4 separate regions of the Homo sapiens genome follow, and all the other regions are linked to region 2. The links are contacts of gene promoters, found by promoter capture Hi-C in blood cells and fetal thymus (Javierre and others, 2016). All regions are on one chromosome and are shown on one strand. Each heading gives the region's core, a stretch centred on a gene start or on the middle of the fragment in contact. The rest is flanking DNA. Distances are from core to core; before and after follow the strand shown. Region 1 has its middle 53 kb from the start of DAAM1. Region 2 holds the start of CCDC175 (coiled-coil domain containing 175). Region 3 has its middle 75 kb from the start of DAAM1. Region 4 has its middle 22 kb from the start of LRRC9.

What was found. The method cuts DNA at HindIII sites, captures the fragments that hold promoters and counts their contacts. A CHiCAGO score of 5 or more calls a contact.
Region 1: a fragment that was not itself captured here is called in contact with the fragment with the promoter of CCDC175 in region 2 in 3 of 17 cell types (total CD8 T cells, naive CD4 T cells and naive CD8 T cells); the score reaches 6.4 in total CD8 T cells.
Region 3: a fragment that was not itself captured here is called in contact with the fragment with the promoter of CCDC175 in region 2 in 3 of 17 cell types (naive CD4 T cells, total CD4 T cells and total CD8 T cells); the score reaches 6.9 in naive CD4 T cells.
Region 4: a contact is called between a fragment that was not itself captured here and the fragment with the promoter of CCDC175 in region 2, in 2 of 17 cell types (M1 macrophages and monocytes). The highest score is 8.0, in M1 macrophages.

The regions. Positions count from the first base shown.
Region 1 is chr14:59,134,355-59,137,054 of GRCh38, reverse strand. It overlaps the pseudogene AKR1B1P5. Among named protein-coding and RNA genes, the nearest start is that of DAAM1, 53 kb to the left of the region's middle. The HindIII fragment of the contact is 8,528 bases long and covers 1-2,700 here.
Region 2 is chr14:59,575,368-59,578,223 of GRCh38, reverse strand. CCDC175 (coiled-coil domain containing 175) reads left to right here and starts at 1,412. Exons shown (of 20, transcript NM_001164399.2): 1 at 1,412-1,605. The coding sequence starts at 1,449. The HindIII fragment of the contact is 5,306 bases long and covers 1-2,175 here.
Region 3 is chr14:59,111,705-59,114,640 of GRCh38, reverse strand. No RefSeq gene overlaps it. Among named protein-coding and RNA genes, the nearest start is that of DAAM1, 75 kb to the left of the region's middle. The HindIII fragment of the contact is 7,010 bases long and covers 1-2,936 here.
Region 4 is chr14:59,896,528-59,899,227 of GRCh38, reverse strand. No RefSeq gene overlaps it. Among named protein-coding and RNA genes, the nearest start is that of LRRC9, 22 kb to the left of the region's middle. The HindIII fragment of the contact is 571 bases long and covers 1,103-1,673 here.

The DNA.
Region 1 (2,700 bases), core at 80-2,579, 440 kb after region 2:
ATCCTTTCATGTGTTCTCTGGATCCCATTCCTCCCCACCTCCCCTAATAGACAAGAAGCAGAATTCAACTAATCTATACATTTAGCTTATCATCTTGACTTCTTAGGGCATTTTACACAGTTTACTCTGTCCTTCTTGAGCTCGTCTGTCCTTTTTCCTTAGCTGTTGTGATAATATACACTCTCTTGGTGTCTTTTGTACCTTGCTGTCCCTCCTCCAAGTCTTTTTCTTTTTCTTTTTTTTTTTTTTTTTTTGAGATAGAGTATCGCTCTGTCGCTCAGGCTGGAGTGCAGTGGTGCAATCTCAGCTCACTGCAAGCTCCGCCTCCTGGGTTCATGCCATTCTCCTGCCTCAGCCTCTCAAGTAGCTGGGACTACAGGCACCCACCACCACGCCCAGCTAATTTTTTGTATTTTTAGTAAAAATGGGGTTTCACTGTGTTAGCCAGGATGGTCTCGATCTCCTGACCTTGTGATCCGTCCGCCTCATCCTCCCAAAGTGCTGGGATTACTGGCATGAGCCACCACACCTGGCCTCTTCCAAGTCTTTCTTTACTGGTTTTTCCTACCTAATATTTAAATATTGAAGTTTCTGTGCATGTTTCTGGGAAGGGGTCTGGGAAGCACTGCATCCATGGCCAGCCACCTCATGCTCAACAATGGCACCAAGATGGCCATCCTGGGACTGGGCATCTGAATGTCCCCTCCAGGCCAGGTGACCAAGGCTGTGAAGGTGGCGATTGATATCAGGTACCGCCACATCCACTGAGCCCAGGTACGAGAATGAGAATGAGATAGGGGTGGCCATTCAGGAGAAGCTCAGGGGGCAGATGGTGAAGCGTGAGGAGCTCTTCATCATCAGCAAACTCTGGTGCACATACCATGGGAAGGGCCTGGTGAAAGGAGCCTGTCAGAAGATGCTCAGTGACCTTAAGCAGGGCTACCTGGACTACTACCTTGTTCACTGGCCAGCCAGCTTTAAGCGTGGGAAGGAATCCTTCCCATTGGATGAGTCAGGCAACATGGTTCCCAGTGACACTGACATTGTGGACACACGGGTGGCCATGAAGAGCTGGTGGATGAAGGGCTGGTGAAAGCTACTGGCATCTCCACCTTCAACCATCTCCAGGTTGAGAGGATCTTAAACAAACCTGGGTTAAAGTATAAGCCAGCAGTTAACCAAATGGAGTGCCACCTGTGCCTCACACAGAAGTTAATCCAGTACTGCCACTCTAAAGGCATTATGGTGACTGCCTGTAGTCCCCTTGGCTCTCCTGACAGCCTCTGGGCCAAGGCTGAGGACCCTTCCCTCCTGGAGGATCCCAAGATCAAGGCAATCATAGCCAGGTGATCATAGCCAGGCGATCCAGGTTTGGATCCGGTTCCCCAGGCAGAGGAACTTGATGGTGATCCCCAGGTCTGTGATACCAGAATGCACTGCTGAGTCACAGACTTTGAACCAAGCAGCCAGGATATTACCATCTTATTCAGCTACAACAAGAACTGGAGGGTCTGTGCCTTGGTAAGCTGTGCCTCTTATAAGGATTACCTCTTCCATGCAGAGTTTTGAAGGGGTGGATGCCTGCTCATCCCCAGTGACCTACACTTGTTTTTCCTGCTCATTTTTTTCTTGCAAATATAGCATGGCCTGTGTCACTCAGTGGTGGAACAACAACCACTAGACTGAGCAGCCAGGGCTTTTCTAGCTTGATGTTGGGTCTGAGGAGCAGTGTCAGTAGAGTAGAAGTCTATTCCAGTTTCCTCTGCCCTCTTTTTTGCCCAGCTGGGGAAAGTGTAGTGTGCATACCCTTTTTTTGACCAAGGAGAAGCAAAATCTACAAGGTCAAAATAGTGCCACTAACAGTCACGTTTTGACTGCTTGTAACTTTTCAGCAAGACTTCTCCTTGCCTAAAAAAAAAAGTGCTGTTGTGAGCTTAAAAAAAAATTTGACATTTCTTAGGCTGTGTACTACCATTTTAACTTCCACTCCCCCATTTTCTTCAAACCTCCATCTTTGTATTATTGTGTGTGTGTGTGTGTGTTCAGTTATAGGAATTTGGGTGTGCAAAAGTGTAAATTTCTTTTTAAAACATTTCTCATAGTCTCATTTCTGCCGACAGTAGTAACTCAGTTACTTTGGCTCAGGGTTTCTCAACCTCAACACTCTTCACATTTTGGACAGGATAATTCTTTGTTGTGAAGGTTGTCCCACATGTTTTGGGATGTTTAGCGGCATCCCTGGCCTCCACTCATAAGATGCCAGCAGCCTCCTGCCCTTCCTAGTTGTGCCAACGACAAAATGTCTCCAGATCATATCAAATGTCCCTGGAGGTGTAAAATTGTCCTTGGTTGAGAACCACTGCATTTACCTTAAACTCAGTCTCTTTGGGGGTACCTAGTCATTTTGTTTCACCTCATCTTCCTTTTCCTTCCCATCTCCCTGGGAGTGGTCAGAGGCTCTGGAGGACTTATGCATAACCTTGACATTCTCAGAGAAACCTTTGATCTGCAATTACTTCTCCACTGGCATTCACTGTTGCTGTCACTCAAAGCCTGTTCTCACAACAGGCTCACTGCAGGACCATTGCTCTGCTGGGTTTTGGCGTCTCCCCTGTTGCTTTCCCATAGTTCCTGCCTCAACATTGGCCGGTGGCTGTCTAGCTTCTGAAACTCAGCAAAATTTTTCCGTCTCAACTCTGA
Region 2 (2,856 bases), core at 163-2,662:
CTGCCACACAGAGGAGGGCCCAGAAGGGCAGGAACAGATTTGAATACCAATAGACCAAATCCAGCAAAAAAGGAGGATGTTGTCCAGGATGGTTTCCAACACCAAAATATGGCACTCCCTGGATGAAGGAGGCCTGGATTCTAGAACTAGTTCTGCTACTGGTATGCTGTGTCCCCTCCAAGGCAGTGTTGCACAGTGGTTTAGGATGTAGCTCAGTGCCCTCACTTGCAAAGCAGGCAATAATACCTAGCTCAAAAGATTATTTGTGAGGGTTAAATGGGGTACTGCAAAGTATTTAAAACAGTGCCTGGAACAAAATAAGCATTTAACAATTGATAGCTATTGTCATTGTTACTATCATTCTAATTTCAATTTTGCCATCTGTAGAGAAAAGAAGAGGAGGGTTGAATCACCTTTGCTTCTCTCTAACCCACCAGAGGAAAAGGAACTGACAGACTCAACCTAAGCCTCATGCTAAGCTGAATTTTGGAGATGCAGAGAAAAATGAATAATATCCTCCTGTCCCCGTCATCACAGAGCTCACAGTTCGATGGGAAGACAGAGAAAAATCACTATGATTCAAGGCAAAATGTGCTCAGTGATGTACTAGATACAAGGAAAGTTCTAAATTAGTACAAAAGAAGGTTTTGTAGCATAGTAGAAAGAGTCATACAGACTTCACTTTATTATTTTATTTTATTATTTTGAGATGGAGTTTAGCTCTTGTCGCCCAGGCTGGAGTGCAATGGCGAGATCTCGGTTCACTATAACCTTTTCCTCCCGGGTTCAAGCGATTGTCCTGCCTCAGCCTCCTGAGTAGCTGGGACTACAGGCACGCGCCACCACGCCCGGCTAATTTTTGTATTTTTAGTAGAGATGGGGTTTCACCATGTTGATTAGGCTGGTTTTGAATTCATGACCACAGGTGATCCTCCCGCCTTGGCCTCCCAAAGTGCTGGGACTACAGGCGTGAGCCACCTCGCCCGGCCCAGACGTCACTTTAAATCCAATATTATCCTCTTGTGGTCTTGAGCCGTTCATTTAGTCGCCCGCGCCTCAGTTTACGTGTCTGTAAAAGTGGAGGTACTAAAAGAGCCTGCTCACAAAGTCCTTGTGAAGATTAAGTGAGCTACTGTATATAAAGGTTCTCCTGCAGTATCCGGCACAAAGATGCGCTCAAAAGTGATCATTATTATGATTCCAGTGGCCCACAAAAAAGATACAGGCCTGAACTAACGCAATGGAAATTGAAAGGGGAAAAATTAGCTAAAGAGAGAGTCATTCTTCCCAGACTGCTTAATTATCGTGGATAAAATTAGAGAACCAGGAGGGTACCTACTAGAGGTGCGGGCCACGAGGGGGCGCCCCACGACCTCGGTGTCCTCGTTGCCCGTGGCAACCGGCAATCCTTGGCTCTGGCTTAGGAGGCGCTCAAGTAGAGCGGCAAAATGGCCCTGAGCCCCTGGACCCCAGGGCTGGGCGCTGGCGAGAAGCTGGTGCAGGCGGCTGCCGTCTCCACTGGCCCCTCCCTGGAGTTATGCACCTTACCCTCCACCCTGGGCTCCTCGGTCGCGGTCGAGGCGCTGGAGCAGCTGTTTGTTGTGGGTAAGACGCCCCTCGGGCGCTGGAAGGGACGTCTCCTCAGAGGTGGCGCTTAGGAGGCACTCAGCGGGAACCCTGAGCGGGGACTCTCCTCCCGGAACCAGGGCATCACTGGGCAGGGCAGAGCCTTCTCCCCGCTCCTTGGAGGCTGGGGAGAGAGAGGTGGCGGGTGGGACCAAGTGCCCAGATCTCCTGCCCTAGCGCAGCTGAGGTGACTTCGCTCAACCCTCAGTAGTAGTTAAATTACTGAGGTGACAAATCCGGGACTCCCAAGCCACTGCCCTATGCCTGCGACCTGATTACACACCTGCATTTAGATTATGCCTTCGATTTCAGTTCTCTTCTTGCCGTTCCTTTACAAGTTAACTTCCTCCGACATTTTGCCGTGGCAAACTGGAGAATTTAACAAGCAAATAGGAAAGGGAGTGTTTAAGAGGCTTCTGTTGTGTTGAGCAAGAAAAATTAGATGTAAAGGGTTGTTTAGGAGATTCTAATAGAAAATGACCTTGGATAGGGCCAGGTTAAAGTATTTTTCAGTTAGAAAGCTGAACCTGTAATCAAGTCACTTAAGCTTAAGGTAAGACAATCCAAGAAAGGGTGTTTCTTGTTCGGTGCAAAAACCGTTTAGGCCAAACAACAAAACATTTCAGTGCTTCACTAGAATCATCCCATTTCTTCAAGATAATCGTATTGATTTATGTTACAATGTTACTATTAATTTGGGATAGTTTTTATTTTCCTTCTTAAATGCGCTAGGTTAATTTCACAATTCTTAGCAAATATGCTTGGGTAAATGTTATCATGAAGAATGTTGGCCGGGCGCGGTGGCTCATGTCTGTAATCCCAGCACTTTGGGAGGCCGAGGCGGGTGGATACCTGAGGTCAGGAGTTTGAGACCAGCCTGGCCAACATGGTGAAACCCCGTCTCTACTAAAAATACAAAAATTAGCCGGGCGTGGTGACGCACGTCTGTAATCCCAGCTACTCGGGAGGCTGAGGCAGGAGAATCCGTTGAACTCAGAAGGCAGAGGTTGTGGTGAGCCGAGATGGTGCCACTGCACTCCAGCCTGCGCGACAGAGCGAGACTCCGTCTCAAAAAAAAAAAAAAAAAAAAAAGGAATGTTACCCACTGAGGAGACCTAAAGTTATTAAGACCTAAATTATTCACATGTATCTGAGGTCACTGTCAATGACAGACCTAGAACCTTGAACTCTTTTCATACTTGATCTCTAGATCGGCATGCCAATGCAACC
Region 3 (2,936 bases), core at 320-2,819, 460 kb after region 2:
ATGTTGGCCAGGCTGGTCTCGAACTCCTGACCTCAAGTGATCTTCCCACCTCGACCTCCCAAAGTGCTGGGATTACAGGTGTGAGCCACTGCACCTGGCCTCTTTTAAAATTTTTATAATTTTCTGCTGAATGTTATCAGAAAGTTCTGGGAGATAAAGTTCTGGAAATTGAATATATGTGGTAGGAAGATTAACCTTTGACAGTCTTTGTTTTTTGTGTTTTTCCTGCAGACTTACATCTAATGAAGGAGGTTGTGCCTGTGTCTGAATGCAGGAGGGGTCCTATGACTCTGGTCTTGCTATAGAGTCACCATCTATAATCAGCCTCTTTTCTTTCAGATATTATTTGACTTTGAACTTTTTAGCTTTTAGTTGTTTGCTTGCTTTCTTTCCTCCTTCACTATGACAAGGAATGCTACATCCTTTTAGACCTGCAATTTTGGTTGCCTGTTTTTCTATTTTATTGCTTTGCAATCTTCTGGGGCTCTGCATCCAACACATGGCTCTCCTGAATTTGTCTTTTTCTAATATAAAAATATTCATGCACTTGGGTTTCTTTCAATGGCACCTGAATTTCTGGCAGGTGATTTTCTCCATTCAAGGTTGTGCTGTGAGTGAAACAGCCCTCAGCCATTAATGTCATTTGCAGAAGGTTCAAATCTGCTATCAGGTGGCTCTAGCCTTATTTATGTTCTGCTTGGGTTTGTTTTTTTTTTTTTTTTTGCTATATTTTTCTATTTCATCTCACTTGGATAAATGGCAGTCTTCTGTGGCTACCTCTTTGTAACTAGACAGATAAAGCTGACCAACTTCATGCCTTCAGGAAGTTTCTCCTCGACCTTTTTAATGAATAGAAGTTTCTCTTTGTTTTTCCCAGCTTTTTGTCTCTCTTTATAAGCCAGACTTAAAGAGAAAAAATGTATAATTTCAGTAGACTCCCAAAACCTGCTGTGGGAGTGGGAGTTGACAGGGTGTTAGGGATGACCTCAGGTAGGTGGTTCACAGGGATCTTCAACAGGACTCTGTAGCGAAAGTCCTTCTCTTGACCCCAGAGACAACTCTGAACCATTCTTCCACTGCCATCAGCTTTTCACTAACTTTAGCTGTGAAGAGTCAGCAGTTGCCAGAGTGGATACAAGGTTAAGGGAGAATATTACAATGAGGAATACTTGAACTTAGCTGGAATCTGGAAGAATCCAATAGAGAGGGAGAACCTGAGATGGAGAAGAGTCCTATCAAAAGGGTTGAGTGCCTAGCCCAGGAATCAACCTGAGCTAGTAATTAAGATGCCTTCACGGCCGGGCGCGGTGGCTCACGCCTGTAATCCCAGCACTTTGGGAGGCCGAGGCGGGTGGATCATGAGGTCAGGAGATCGAGACCATCCTGGCTAAGAAGGTGAAGCCCCGTCTCTACTAAAAATACAAAAAATTAGCCGGGCGCCTGTAGTCCCAGCTACTCGGGAGGCTGAGGCAGGAGAATGCCGTGAACCCGGGAAGCGGAGCTTGCAGTGAGCCGAGATTGCGCCACTGCAGTCCGCAGTCCGGCCTGGGCGACAGAGCGAGACTCCGTCTCAAAAAAAAAAAAAAAAAAAAAAAAAAAAAAAAAAAAAAAAAGATGCCTTCACACAGCAACTGATCTCTTGCCCATATCAATAATTTTATCACTACTACTATTAGTTGGGTGGCTTTGGGGAGTTAATGAAGATTACGGGATGAGTGCTAAAGATTTTGATGATGTGCGTTGTCTGTTTACTCTGCTGACTGTTCTTTTTTGCTGTGAAAAAGCTCTTTAGTTCAATTAAGTCCCAGCAATTTATCTTTGTATTTATTGCATTTGCTTTTGGGTTCTTGGTCATGAAATCCTTGCCTAAGCCAATGTCTAGAAGGGTTTTTCCAATGTTATCTTCTAGAATTTTCATAGTTTCAAGTCTTAGATTTAAGTTCTTAATCCATCTTGAGTAGATTTTTGTGTAAGGTGAGAGATAAGGATCCAGTTTCATTCTCCTACGTGGCTAGCCAATTATCCCAGCACCATTTGTTGAAAACGGTGTCCTTTCCCCACTTTATGTTTTTGATTGCTTTGCCAAAGATCAGTTGGCTGTAAGTATTTGGGTTTATTTCTGGGTGCTCTGTTCTGTTCCATTGGTCTATGTACCTGTTTTTATACCAGTACCATGTTGTTTTGGTGACTATGGCCTTATACTATAGTTTGAAATTAGGTAATATGATGCCTCCAGATGTGTTCTTTTTACGTGTCTTGCTTTGGCTGTGCAGGCTCTTTTTCAGTTCCATATTAATTTTAGAATAGTTTTTTTCTAATTCCGTGAAGAATGATGGTGATATTTTGATGAGAATTGCATTGAATTTGTAGATGGCTTTTGGCAGTATGGTCATTTTTACAATATTGATTCTATCCATCCATGAGCATGGGATGTGTTTCCATTTGTTTGTGTTGTCTATGATTTCTTTCAGCAGTGTTTTGTAGTTTTCTTTGTAGAGGTCTTTCACCTCCTTGGTTAAGTGTATTCCTAAGGTGTTTTTTTTTTTTTTTTTTTTTGGTTTTCATTTATTTATTTATTTATTTTTGCAGCTATTTTACAAGGGGTTGAGTTCTTGACTTGATTCTCAGTGTGGTCGCTGTTGATGTATAGAAGAGCCACTGATTTGTGTATATTAATTTTGTATCTGGAAACTGGAGTGTTTAGGGTTTTCTAGGTAAACAATCATACCATCAGCAAACAGTGACAGTTTGACTTCCTCTTTACTGATTTGGATGCCCTTTATTTCTTTCACTTGTCTGACTGTTCTGGCTAGGACTTCCAATACCATGTTGAAGAGGAATGGTGAGAGTGGGCCTCCTTGTTTTGTTCCAGTTCTCAGAGGGAATGCTTTCATCTTTTCCCCATGAGTATTATGTTGGCAGCGGGTTTGTCATAG
Region 4 (2,700 bases), core at 139-2,638, 320 kb before region 2:
AATGAGTTGCTAAGCATCAGTAGTGCTGCTTGAGCCACGAATACAGGGAGTCAAGTGTGAGCTACAATGTATGTTGATGAACAGCCATGAGTGACTGACAGGTGTTTCTCATTACAAGTTATTGGGTTTTTTTGGAGATAATAATATCGAAGCATATTTAATGGTAGCTTTTAATTTAGAATTTCACCACAAAGATCTTTTGATTAGAAACAGCTATTCTCAAACTTTTTGGTTTCCTTCATACTTTTAAAAATTATTGAGGACCCCAAGGAGTTTTTGTTTGTGTGAGTTACAATTGGTATTAATCATATTAAAAGTTAAAATTCAGAAATTTAAAACATTTATTAATTTTGAAATAATAATAAACTCATTACATGTTAACACAAAAACATGTTTTTATAAAGATAATCGTATCTTATGAAACAAAACTGTAGTAAGGAACACGACATGGTTTTACATTTTTTTAAAAAACCAATGTCTGACTTAAGGGAAGACATTTAGGATTCCCATACTCCTTTTGCAGTCAATCCATTACAAAATCTTAGATCGTGTAGCTTCTGGAAACCTCCACTGTGCATTTGTGAGACAATGAGAGTGAAAAAGCAAATAACATCAACATTATTGTGAAAACAGCTCACAAACCCTGAAAGTCACTAGCCACACACTGAAGACTACTTATTTAGAACAATATTTGGTTCATGAGGGGAAATTGTGTAATATTCGTAACTGAAGTTGAATCAATGTAGAACTATAGGGCTAGAAGGTGTTAGTTACTGGAACATAGTTTAAAAAATATGTCTTAAAATAATTTATCTACTGTTTAAATTGTAGTAGAAATTAATTTAAAAATTCTAAAAAGCATCACATATTTGAAATTATTGAGTGGCAAAAATATGAGGATATATATACATTGAGCAGAACTTTAAAAAATAATAGTCTTTAGAAGTTACCATTTGTGACCTTGCTACTAGAACTAGTTACTACCATCATATTACCTGATCAAGTCATCATGGTACAGTAGAAAGAGCTCAAGAGTGTGAGTTCTAACTTCCAATTTGACTGGTTTTGTGAACTTGGGCAAATTACTTCACTCCCCTAAGCTTCAGCGTCCTCATTTGTGAAATGGGAATTAAAGTACCGACCTTGCAGAATTGTAAGATAGGGAAATGGGGGAGCCGTGAGTATAAGGATTAAGCTCCCACCTCAACATTTAGCGCAGATTTTGATGGACACCAATATTGAATTCCACCTAGAAACAGGTGGGGGCAGTGGTGAACTGCGTGAGTAGGGAGGCATTGGCAAATCTTAGCTGCAAATAGCCGCAAACACCCTAGTGAAAGAATATCAGGCCACTGGACGTGGTGGCTCATGCCTCTAATTCTATCACTTTGGAAGGCCAAAGCAGGAGGATCCCTTAAGTCCAGGAGTTCAAGATCAGCCTGGGCAACATAGCGAGACTGTGCCTCTGCAAAAAATAAAAAAATATTAACTGGGCATTGTGGCACACACCTGTGGTTCCAGCTACTAGGTAGGCTAAGATAGGAGGATTGCTTGAGCCTGAAAGGTCAAGGCTGTAGTGAGCTGTGATGTACCACTGCACCCTAGCCTGGGTGACAGAGCAAGACCCTGTCTCAAAAAGAAATAACAATAAAATATCAGGCCAAATCCAAGCTTGATGCAGCAGTGGCATCAGAAGACCAGACAGATCACAGTAACTATGAGGTAAAGAGACACAGAAGCCAGAAACCAGGGTGAGCACAGGAATGAAAGCCAAAGAGCAAGCTACCAGGTCACAGAGGGGAGAGTCAGATCAAGGCCAGGAACCAGGAGTAGGTAAGGTCCAGGAGGGGGTACAAAGAATCCTGAGAGAGAAACCTCGGGCCCTGGGTGAACTTGATGAGGAGTGAAGCACTAGGAAGTGGTAGCCCTGGCTAGTCACATAGGCCTAGCCTGATCGAAAAGACAGTCAAGAAGTGGGCAGGATGGGGCTTTTCCCACACATCTACCCAGGCATCACATAGATCTGGCCTGGGCGAAATGAATACTCCCCCTGCTTCAGCCCGTCTCACCTCTTCATCTTGTAACAGAAGTGCTCTTTCCTGTGGAGAACTCATTCCAGACAAAAAAAGTAAGGCTGACTCCACCTAGGGTGACCAGTCTTCCTGGTTTGCTTGGAACTGAGGGGGTTTCCTGGGACCTTGGACTTTCAGTTTTAAAACTGGACAAATCCCAGGCAAACTGGGATGAGCTTGTCACCCTGCCTTACACTATAACCACCGCTACCCTAAATGAGTGCACATATGCCCCAAGTTGGGCTGATGGAGAGGATCTCCAGGACATTCGTCTTAGAGCTGCCATCAAAGATGGTTCTATTACTTCTGGGTGGACTAAGTCGGTGGAATAGATGTTATCTGCCAACTGTCATTTCATCCACTACAGGAAGAATGTCTGTCTGAGAGATGAGTATAAATCCCTATCTCTGATGAGCATCTCAATCCTGCTGAACCTGAAGCAAGGACTGCCCAGGAAACTTTTGGCGACATGAGCTTATGAATTCTTTCTTCTGAAGTTTGGATTTGGTTTCTGGCCTGGCTTAATATAGTGGGTACTTTGAATAGAAGGCAGATATAAATCATGGTGTATACTTACAGGCATTTTAACTATCAGAAGACTCCCTCACTTAGTGAGACATTATAGCTC